Regions from separate parts of the Homo sapiens genome. Here region 1 is linked to region 2. The links are contacts of gene promoters, found by promoter capture Hi-C in blood cells and fetal thymus (Javierre and others, 2016). All regions are on one chromosome and are shown on one strand. The core of a region is centred on a gene start or on the middle of the fragment in contact, and the rest is flanking DNA. Distances in the headings are between cores, read along the strand shown. Region 1 holds the start of LCN10 (lipocalin 10). Region 2 holds the start of ENTPD2 (ectonucleoside triphosphate diphosphohydrolase 2).

Region 1 (4,162 bases), core at 1,107-3,606, 310 kb after region 2:
GGTTTTGTTTCCTAGCAATAGGCGTGCTGGAGCTCTGGGTGCTGGCCACCAACTTCAGAGACTATGCCATCATCTTCACTCAGCTGGAGTTCGGGGACGAGCCCTTCAACACCGTGGAGCTGTACAGTAAGTGTGCTGTGCGGGGCCCACGTAGGGAGCTGTGTGGTGCGTGGGCCACTCGGGGCCCACGTTGGGAGCTGTGTGGTGCGTGGGCCGCTTGGGGGCCGCGTGGGGAGCTGTGTGGTGAGTGGGCCGCTCGGGGGCCATGTGGGGAGCTGTGTGGTGAGTGGGCCGCTTGGGGCCACATGGGGAGCTGTGTGGTGAGTGGGCCGCTCGGGGGCCATGTGGGGAGCTGTGTGGTGGGTGGGCCGCACAGGACCACATGCAGGCCAAGTTCCCCCACCTTGAGGCTCGCTGCACTGGAGGTGGCTTTGGAAGGACCGGGGCCAGCATCCCAGGGCAGGTGGCCTCCTTCCTGACCCTTCCCAGCCCCTCCCCGGCCCCTCCCCAGCTCTCAGAGGTTGCTTCCCCCTGCACTGCCCTGGTGCCCCCAGGTCTGACGGAGACAGCCAGCCAGGAGGCCATGGGGCTCTTCACCAAGTGGAGCAGGAGCCTGGGCTTCCTGTCACAGTAGCAGGCCCAGCTGCAGAAGGACCGTGAGTGTCCACCGGAGCAGCCTCGGGGGAGGCTTGGGGCAAGTTCTGGAGCCCACAGGGCGTGATGGGGTGACAGAGACCCTGGGGTTGATTCTGGCTTCTGCCTGACTCAGTCGCCCTGAAGGAGTCAGGCAGGCTGAGGGGGTCTTCACCTGCCCCTGCCCAAAGTCAGGCCTGGGGGTCTTGTCCCCACGGCAGGCGAGTCTTGTGGGTGGGGCCCTGGGGTGCTGGGGGGCTCAGTCCTTTTTCACAGCCAGTCTTGCCTCCCCTTCTAGTCACCTGTGCTCACAAGATCCTTCTGGTAAGCCGCCATCCTGAGCCTCACCCTGGGCTCTCTTGGGGGAAGGGGGTGGGGGAGGCCACCCTACGCACAGTGGGTGGGAGGACCCTCTGCCCAAGCCCACGGGGTTCATGGCTCCACTGTCTCTAAGGCAGCTGAGGGTGTGGAGGAGCCTCCATGGTGGGCTGGGCCCCCTCACACTCCTCTTGGTTTTCAGTGAGTGCTGCGTCCCCAGTAGGGATGGCGCCCACAGGGTCCTGTGACCTCGGCCAGTGTCCACCCACCTCGCTCAGCGGCTCCCGGGGCCCAGCACCAGCTCAGAATAAAGCGATTCCACAGCAAACCAAGGATGCTTTTGACTGGGGGCCAGCCGGGGAATTGCGGGGAGGATGGCGGGGGTCGTCACCAAGGGCCAAGCCACAGAACCATAGAGCCAGCTGCAAAGAAGACGCGTGCCCAACCCAGTCCCTTGCCAGAGCCCCTCTGGGTCTTCAGACACCCAAACTCAGGCCCGGGCTCAGAGGCGGGGGCTGGTCAGAGGACACAGCCTGGGAGGAAGCCAGCAGTGAGCTCCACCAGGACCGCAGCTGGGGTGCCAGAGGCTCCAAGGACTGCCCAGGACAAGAGAGAGGTGGCTGGTGGGGCTCAGAGCAGCCCCTGACTCCCCAGGCTCAGGCTTCTCTGGGCTGGGGTTGTGTCTCTTGCCTGGGCAGGGGCAGGGACCCCAGACACCTGAGCCTGCAGGTCCTCCTGTGTTCTGATGGGTGTGGGGGGCTGCGCTGCCTGCCGTCCTGGGAGAAGCACAGGCCATGGGGGTCTCGGGGCTGGATGGGGGGCTGGGGACTGTGTGAGGCTCATGCTGGAGTGAGGCGAGGTGCACACAGATGCCTTGACCTGCAAGGCTGGGCATGCACACGCATGCACATGTGAGCACACACCCACACATGCACACACACACATTCATGGGCACGGGCACACAGCCCCGGCCCGCCCTTCGGCACCTGCTCAGGTGCTTGGTGCCAGGCCCTCAAGAAGGTGGTGGGGGCTGTGTGTGTGGCTGCCGCGCAGAGCTCACCATGTCCACATCTGCCCCAGAAGGGCCACGACCAGCCCTTTGCCTGTCACCTGGGAGGTCTAGGATGAGGGCCAGGGCTTAATGAGTCTCAGGGGCACACACAGTGACCCCAGGCCGGGCACTGAGGGCAGGAGGGTCCTGGGGCCTCAGAGGGGCCTCTGTCTGCCAGGGCAGCCCAGGCCAGCAGTGACCACCAGGTGGGGCAGTGCCGGCTTCCCTGGAGTGTCTGGGGGTGGTCCCTGGGCGGGGAGAGGGTAGCAGAGCCCAAGGCCACACCTGTTGCCTCCCTCCGCTCCCTCCCCTCCCTCCTCTCCCGACACAGGCTGGCGGCTCCAGAGAGGTTTAAACACTGGCCTTGGCGGCTGAGGGAGGAGGGTGAAGATGAGGCAGGGGCTGCTGGTGCTGGCGCTGGTGCTGGTGCTGGTGCTAGTGCTGGCTGCAGGGTCCCAGGTGCAGGAGTGGTACCCCAGGGAGTCCCACGCCCTCAACTGGAACAAGGTGAGCCATGTGCCACTGGTCCCTGAGCCGGGCGCCGGCTCTGGAGCTGGAGCAGGCTCCTGCACAGTCTCCCGGCAGCCGCCCAGGAGCAGGGCTACCAGCAGTTCCAGGCACGGGCGCTGCCCACCTGGCCTCTCCCACTGCAGCCTCCAGCACAGGGGCCCCGCAAGTTGCAGGGCAAAGGCAGGGAGCCTCGAGGGGGTTCGGGGGCCCAGGGGGGTCAGGGAGGGCCAGGGTGGAGGGGCCCAGAGAGCTGTGGCCGAGGAGGTCGGGAGACGCCCAGAGTGCAGAGTGGGTGTGGAGCAAGCGGGGCATATTCTGTAGCGGGAGGGCCCGGGCACCTGCTGAGTGAGCCGTGGGAGCAGCACTCATTGGCACGGCGGTGCCCAGGGCGCTAGGGTTGGCAGCAGGCAGAGTTGGGGGCCGGGGGCCGGCAGGAAGGGAAGTGGCCGAGCAGTACCCAGCCCCCAGGAGGCCATGTGGGAAGGAGCCGGGGCCTCTGAGGTAGGGGGCCTCCCACCTGCTGGCGCCCACAGCCCAGCCCTTTGCTGCCTGGGGTCCCTGACCAGCCGGGCACCTGCTTCTCTGCAGCCCTGCTCCAGTGGCCAGGGCTTGAGTGGCCGGGACCGAGGCGGCACCTGGGCGGAGCTGGGACTCCGGCTCACAGAAGGGTCATTTGTCTCCTGGGTTCTCTAGCTGGGAACCTCGGGGGTGGGGACAGCCCCCGGTGGCAGCTCCTGTCCCCGCCCACACATCCGCTGCGCAGTTTTCAGGGTTCTGGTACATTCTGGCCACTGCCACTGATGCCCAGGGATTCTTGCCGGCCAGGGACAAGAGGAAGCTGGGGGCGTCCGTGGTAAAGGTGAACAAAGTGGGCCAGCTCCGCGTGCTCCTCGCCTTCAGACGGTGAGTGGGCAGCGCCCCCCAGGCAAGGGTCTCCCCTTCCAGGAGGAGGGAGCTGCCTCGGGGCTGGAAAGGAGTCTGGGAGGAGCCTGTCTGTCTGGAAGTTCCACAAGAACCGTCCCCCCACTTCCTCCCCCTAAACTCAGAGGAAGCCACCTGCAGCCCCTGGGACCCCACATGGGTGGGTGTTGGGAGGAAGCTGCCTGCAGACCTTGGGACCCCACATGGGTAGGTGTTGGGAGGAAGCCGCTTGCAGCTCCTGGGCCCCACACGGGTGGGTGTTGGGAGTTTCTCTCGTGCCGTGGGACAGGCCCCAGTCCGAATTGGAAAATCCTCAAACCACAGAGCCTCAGATTGACACGAGTTGGATAGTGAAGCAAAAAACTGGGGACCTGGGGCCCCAACCTTCCCGGGTCCCACGGGAGCAGGGGCGGGACCGAGACGTGTGGGTGGGGCTCGGTGGCTGGCAGGCGGGAGGAGGGGTTCCCTGGTCTGCAGCCTGAGCCCCCGCCTTGGCCCCAGGTTGAAGGGGTGCCAGTCCCAGGAGGTGATCCTGAGGAAAGACGGGAAGAAGCCGGTGTTTGGGAACGCCTGTGCATACGCGGCGGGCCCGAGGGAAGGACAGGAGGGAGGTGTGCTTGGGCTCTGGGCCCTGGAGGAGCTGCGTGATATGCCTCTGACCCCCCTGTGCCTTGAGCAGGCCCCTTGTCCCCGAGAGCACGTGGCAGGCAGGCGTCAGGCTGGCTGTGT
Region 2 (4,760 bases), core at 2,261-4,760:
GTGGGGAATGGTTATAGGCGCCTGTAATCCGAGTTGCTCAGGAGGCTGAGGCGGGAAATCGCTTGAACCCAGGAGGTGGAGGTTGCAGTGAGCTGAGATCGCGCCACTGCACTCCAGCCTGAGCGATAGGGCCAGACTCCACCTCAGATAAAAAATAAAATTAAAAAAAAGAGTGTATATGTGCAGAGCAGCAATCTCAGCAAAGCCTAAAGCCAGACACTGTGTGTTCACCAGCTGCAGCGACACGCCGTCTGCATGTTCTCACTCACAGGATGGAATACAGCAAGGAACAAACAAGCCACACCTCTCAGTGTCAACAGGGTGAATCCCAAACGCGTAACGTGAGTGAAAGAAGCAAGTCCCAGAACAGCACGTCCAGCACATCAGAGACCACCAATGGGGTCCTGCTGCCACCCTGGCATTGCTCTTACCAACTGTGCATATGTGCACCTCCCATTCTGTTGTGTCTCCGACCTCGAACAGGACAGCACAGGCTTCCCCGCCTCCCGTGGGCCTTTGCAAAGTCTGCTCTCCCCAGGCCAGTGGGTGCCCTCCCCACAGGGCTCCCTGTGCATGCATGGAGCCTGGCGTGCTTTGGGCACCCAGGAGTACTACTCAGCAAGCGTTTGTTGAATGACTTAATGAGCACCTGCAGAAAGGGAGCAGTGAGTGAAAGGCCTTTCACAATTAAACCATCAAGGTGTTTCGGCCACAGCACAAGTTTCTTTTTTTTTTTTCTTTTGAGATGGAATCTCGCTCTGTCGTCCAGGCTGGAGTGCAGTGGTGCAGTCTCAGCTCACTGCAACCTCTGCCTCCCAGGTTCAAGCGATTCTCTTGCCTCAGCCTCCCAAATAGCTGGAATTACAGGTGTCTGCCACTACAGCCGACTAATTTTTTTTTTTTTTTTGACTCGCTCTGTCACCCAGGCTGGAGTGCAGTGGCGCGATCTTGGCTCACTGCAAGCTCCGCCTCCCGGGTTCACACCATTCTCCTGCTTCAGCTTCCCGAGTAGCTGGGACTACAGGTGCCCGCCACCACGCCCGGCTAATTTTTTGTATTTTTAGTAGAGATGGCATTTCACTGCGTTAGCCAGGATGGTCTTGATCTCCTGACCTGATGATCCGCCCGCCTCAGCCTTCCAAAGTGCTGGGATTACAGGAGTGAGCCACCGCGCCCGGCCCACAACCGGCTAATTTTTGTATTTCTATTAGAGACGGCGTTTCACCATGTTGGCCAGGCTGGTCTTGAACTCCTGACCTTAAGTGATCCACCTGCCTCAGCTTCCCAAAGTGCTGGAATTACAGACGTGAGCCACACAGCACAAGCTTCTGATGTGGAGACTGAGGCAGGGCAGCCAAGATGTCAGCAGGCCTCAGGAAAGCCCCCCTCCCTGGGAGGTCTGAGCCCTGCGTGGGCGGGAGGCTCCGAGTTCCCTCCCCCAGGGGTTCTCCCCTAACCTCTCTGCATCCGCATGTTCCCAGCTCAGCCGGGGTCATGTGCAGCACATCTGGAGGCCCCATCCCCGAGAGGGTCCTGGAAGCCGAGAGCTGCCCCACCCAGAGGCCCCTCCACCCCTTCAGCTCCTGCCAGCTTCCCTCTGACGCTCTCCCAAGTCTGCCTTCCAGGGTCCCTGAGTCCATGCCAGGAAGGGGCGTTCCCCCGCCCTCACTCCGTCTCAAAGAGAGCTCAGCCTCAGCCTTTGTCCTGGCCGCTCTGGGCTCCCTGCCTCTCCCTCCGCAGGCGAAGCTGGGCACTCGGCCATGAGCCTGTCTCCCCGGGGCAGAGTCCAGCTCCCCTCTCCCTCCCCATCCTCTCAGGCCTGGCAGACCTCCCACTCCCTGGCTTGAGCTTTTTGTCCATGAAAAGAGTCCAGAACACCAGGAAGCCCCGCTGGGCCTGGAGGGAAGCGGGGTACCGCAGGCCAGTGGGGGTCGCAGCACCCTGCCTCTGGGCGGCCTTTGTTCCTTCCTTTTCAGGCATGATGTGCACTGTGCGTGCCTCTCCCTCCTCTGGGCGGTCAGGGGTGGAAGAAAGGCCTGGGGTGTGTGGGGGGAAACTGGGGCCTGGGGCCTGGAGCTTAGCACCGGCAACACCCAGAGATTGCCTGCTGGAGCCCCGCCAGGCTGGGCTGTGAGGCTGAGGCAGCAGAGAGGCTTCCCAGGGTTCCCACCCCTCCCTTTGGGGTCCTGAGCTGGAAGAAAGATGCCTTTACTGGGCCTGTGGCGCCAGACCCTCAGCCCAGGCAGCAATCCCAGCACAATTGTCACTGCCCGTTCCAGAAGGCCGGGCATGGTCTGGACCCTGCCCCATGGGGCTGCCCTTTGGGCCCCAGCAGCCTGCACTCCCTGGTGGCCTTGCCTCGTGGCTCCCTGACGCTGTGTGGCTGGAATTATTGGGACAAGAATTCCCACTTTGCAGCAGGCGCAAAGGGGGTGGCCCCTGGCCGGGCTGGGATGCGGGGCCTGTGAGGCTGCAGAGCCGAAAGGCCAGCCATGTCGTGGGACGGAGGAGCAGGGCTTGCGTCTGGGGCCAGCTGCGCTTCGCCTGCCCCAGCCGTCCCCAGAAGCCTGTTGCTGACCCGCACCCCAAGCTTGGCCTGGGGACCCTCTTCCTTGCCTTTCAGGCCACGTAGAGGCCCCACCTGTTTCCGTCCTGGGGAAGCCTCCTCTGGCCTCCGCAGCCCAAGCCTCTGTTCCCCTCAGGCCGAGGGGGCAGCAGGCGCGGCTGAGGCCCTGGGCTGGGAGGTATGGACCTTTGGCCCGGTCTGTGCTGCTTCTCCTGTTTCTCGGCTCGGTGTGACCTGGGCCGTCCCTCCCCTTCCCCGTTCCTGCGTCCTCACCTTCACCTCAGTACAGGGCCCAGGTGAGGTGGATCTGACTGGGCCTCAAGGGTAGTTCTGGCCTGGGTCAGCTGCGTGTCTCTGGAGCTGACCTGCGCTGGCTCAGCGCCGCAGGCTGGCGGATCCTTGCTGGCCGGGAGGGCATCCCGCAGGCCAGCCTGGTCCTCACCAGCCCTGGGAGTTGGCGCTCAGGGCCCTGCTCCACAAACAGGTGCTGACCCTCGGCTTCCTCCTGAGTCCCCAGCCCGGGCCCCGCGTGGCTCCGCAGCCGACAGTGCCTCATTCCTGCAAGCGAGTCTGGCCTCCTTTCCCGGGCCCGGGAAAAGCGCGGCTCTCCAGCACAGGACCCTCCGAGCCAGCCTCGCCCGCCCACCCCCACGCCAGGTCTCCTGCCTCCACGGCCGGGGGATCCCCTTGCTGAGTGGGCGGGAAGGGGAAGGTGGGCCATAGCCGCGGGGCGCCCGGGCTCAGACCCGGGAGCCGGGGGGCGGTGCTGGTGACTCAGCCGCGCCCGCGTCTCTCACCTGCGCGGGCCGGACGGCGGAAGCTTGGGAGCGGAGGCGAAACCTGTCCGCCCGTGGGCGTGGCCGGTGATGGGCGGGCCCGCCCGGCCTCCCGCCCCTCGTCCCGCCCCGGGGCCCCTACCCCGCGGTCCCGCGGCCCCGCCCGCCTCCGCCTCCGGCTCCCCGCACTCTCCGGGTCCACGCATCGTCCTCCCGCGCGCCCGCCCGCCCATGGCCGGGAAGGTGCGGTCACTGCTGCCGCCGCTGCTGCTGGCCGCCGCGGGCCTCGCCGGCCTCCTACTGCTGTGCGTCCCCACCCGCGACGTCCGGGAGCCGCCCGCCCTCAAGGTGCGCGCCCGGGCACCCAGCGCACGTCTGGGGAGCAGCGGGCCGGGCTTGGAGCCGGGGAGGGGGTGCGGCTGGGAACCTGAGCAGGATCAGCCCGGGACCCCCACCGTGCTCTGCTCCTGGCGGGCTGGGTGGGGTCCCGGGTTCCGCGCTCTGCGCTCCCCGACCGGGTACGCGGAGGGGGCGGGGGGCGGTGGCGCTTCCAGGGCGACGCGGTGCTGAAGGAACAAGTCCCGGGAGTTCCGCGCCCGCCGCCGAGTCCGTCAACGCAGCCCAGGGGCTGTGTCCCCGCTCCCGGGATAGCCCAGCGATGCCCCCTGGGTGCTGCCGGACGCCCGCCCCCAGGCCTGTGCGGGCCCCCAGGGGCACTCCGGGCCACTTCTGCCCTGTGCCGCCGCCCCGGAGGGTGCGGTTAGAGCCACATCGACTGGGTATTCAGCCCAGATGGGGATCCACAAGCCCCAGGACCCAGGGCCCCCGCCAGGACACGAGAGTGGCCCAGAAAGACAGGAGGGCTTGACCGGAGCAGCCCTGGCCGGTCCTCAAAAGGTTGGAGCAGGCTAGCCTGGATCTCCACTCCAGCAGGCCCAGGGACCTCCTGGTCGGCCCCTTTAACCCTTTATTGGGCTTGTAGGGGGGTGGGGTGGAGAGCCAAGTCCCCCAGCCTGATGGGGAGTCAGAAGCAGGGAGCTCTGCGGCCCTGCAGGACGGCCATGTGGCGGTGCACGCGCTGACCTGTTGATGCTCTGGGCTCTGGGGAAGCCTTGGTCGGGATGGACTGGTGCGGCCCTCTCGGAGGCTGGAATTGGCGCCCGGGCCTGGGAGGCTGGTCCCCAGCTTTCCAGGTGGATCCAGGATGCTGGGGCAGGAGCTGGAAAAGGGCATTTACAAGCTCGTGCCACTCAGGTCTGCAGGAAGGCCCACCCAGCACCCCCAACAAGGCAGGGCCAGCCTCTCTCTCTGGCCCTGGCTTGGAGGCCTAGGGAGAGTGTCTTTAGAGCTGACCTGGCTCTGAGGCCCACGGCCAGCCTCGGTGGACCTTCTTCACCTGGGGCCCTGCCTCCTGCATC

What was found. The method cuts DNA at HindIII sites, captures the fragments that hold promoters and counts their contacts. A CHiCAGO score of 5 or more calls a contact.
Region 1: a contact is called between the fragment with the promoter of LCN10 here and the fragment with the promoter of ENTPD2 in region 2, in 6 of 17 cell types (erythroblasts, fetal thymus, M0 macrophages and 3 more). The highest score is 6.2, in erythroblasts.

Annotation. Positions count from the first base shown.
Region 1 is chr9:136,741,134-136,745,295 of GRCh38, reverse strand. LCN10 (lipocalin 10) reads left to right here and starts at 2,356. Exons shown (of 6, transcript NM_001001712.3): 1 at 2,356-2,509; 2 at 3,276-3,415; 3 at 3,935-4,044. The coding sequence starts at 2,393. It overlaps LCN6 (lipocalin 6), which reads left to right. Exons shown (of 7, transcript NM_198946.3): 4 at 16-126; 5 at 555-656; 6 at 932-957; 7 at 1,154-1,279. The coding sequence ends at 634. RefSeq lists a silencer at 2,852-2,951. The HindIII fragment of the contact is 7,084 bases long and covers 1-4,162 here.
Region 2 is chr9:137,052,811-137,057,570 of GRCh38, reverse strand. ENTPD2 (ectonucleoside triphosphate diphosphohydrolase 2) reads left to right here and starts at 3,510. Exons shown (of 9, transcript NM_203468.3): 1 at 3,510-3,690. The coding sequence starts at 3,574. It overlaps LOC105376327 (a long non-coding RNA gene), which reads right to left. Exons shown (of 2, transcript XR_930455.2): 1 at 4,696-4,760; 2 at 4,196-4,561. RefSeq lists silencers at 3,275-3,354, 3,455-3,524. The HindIII fragment of the contact is 4,509 bases long and covers 3,389-4,760 here.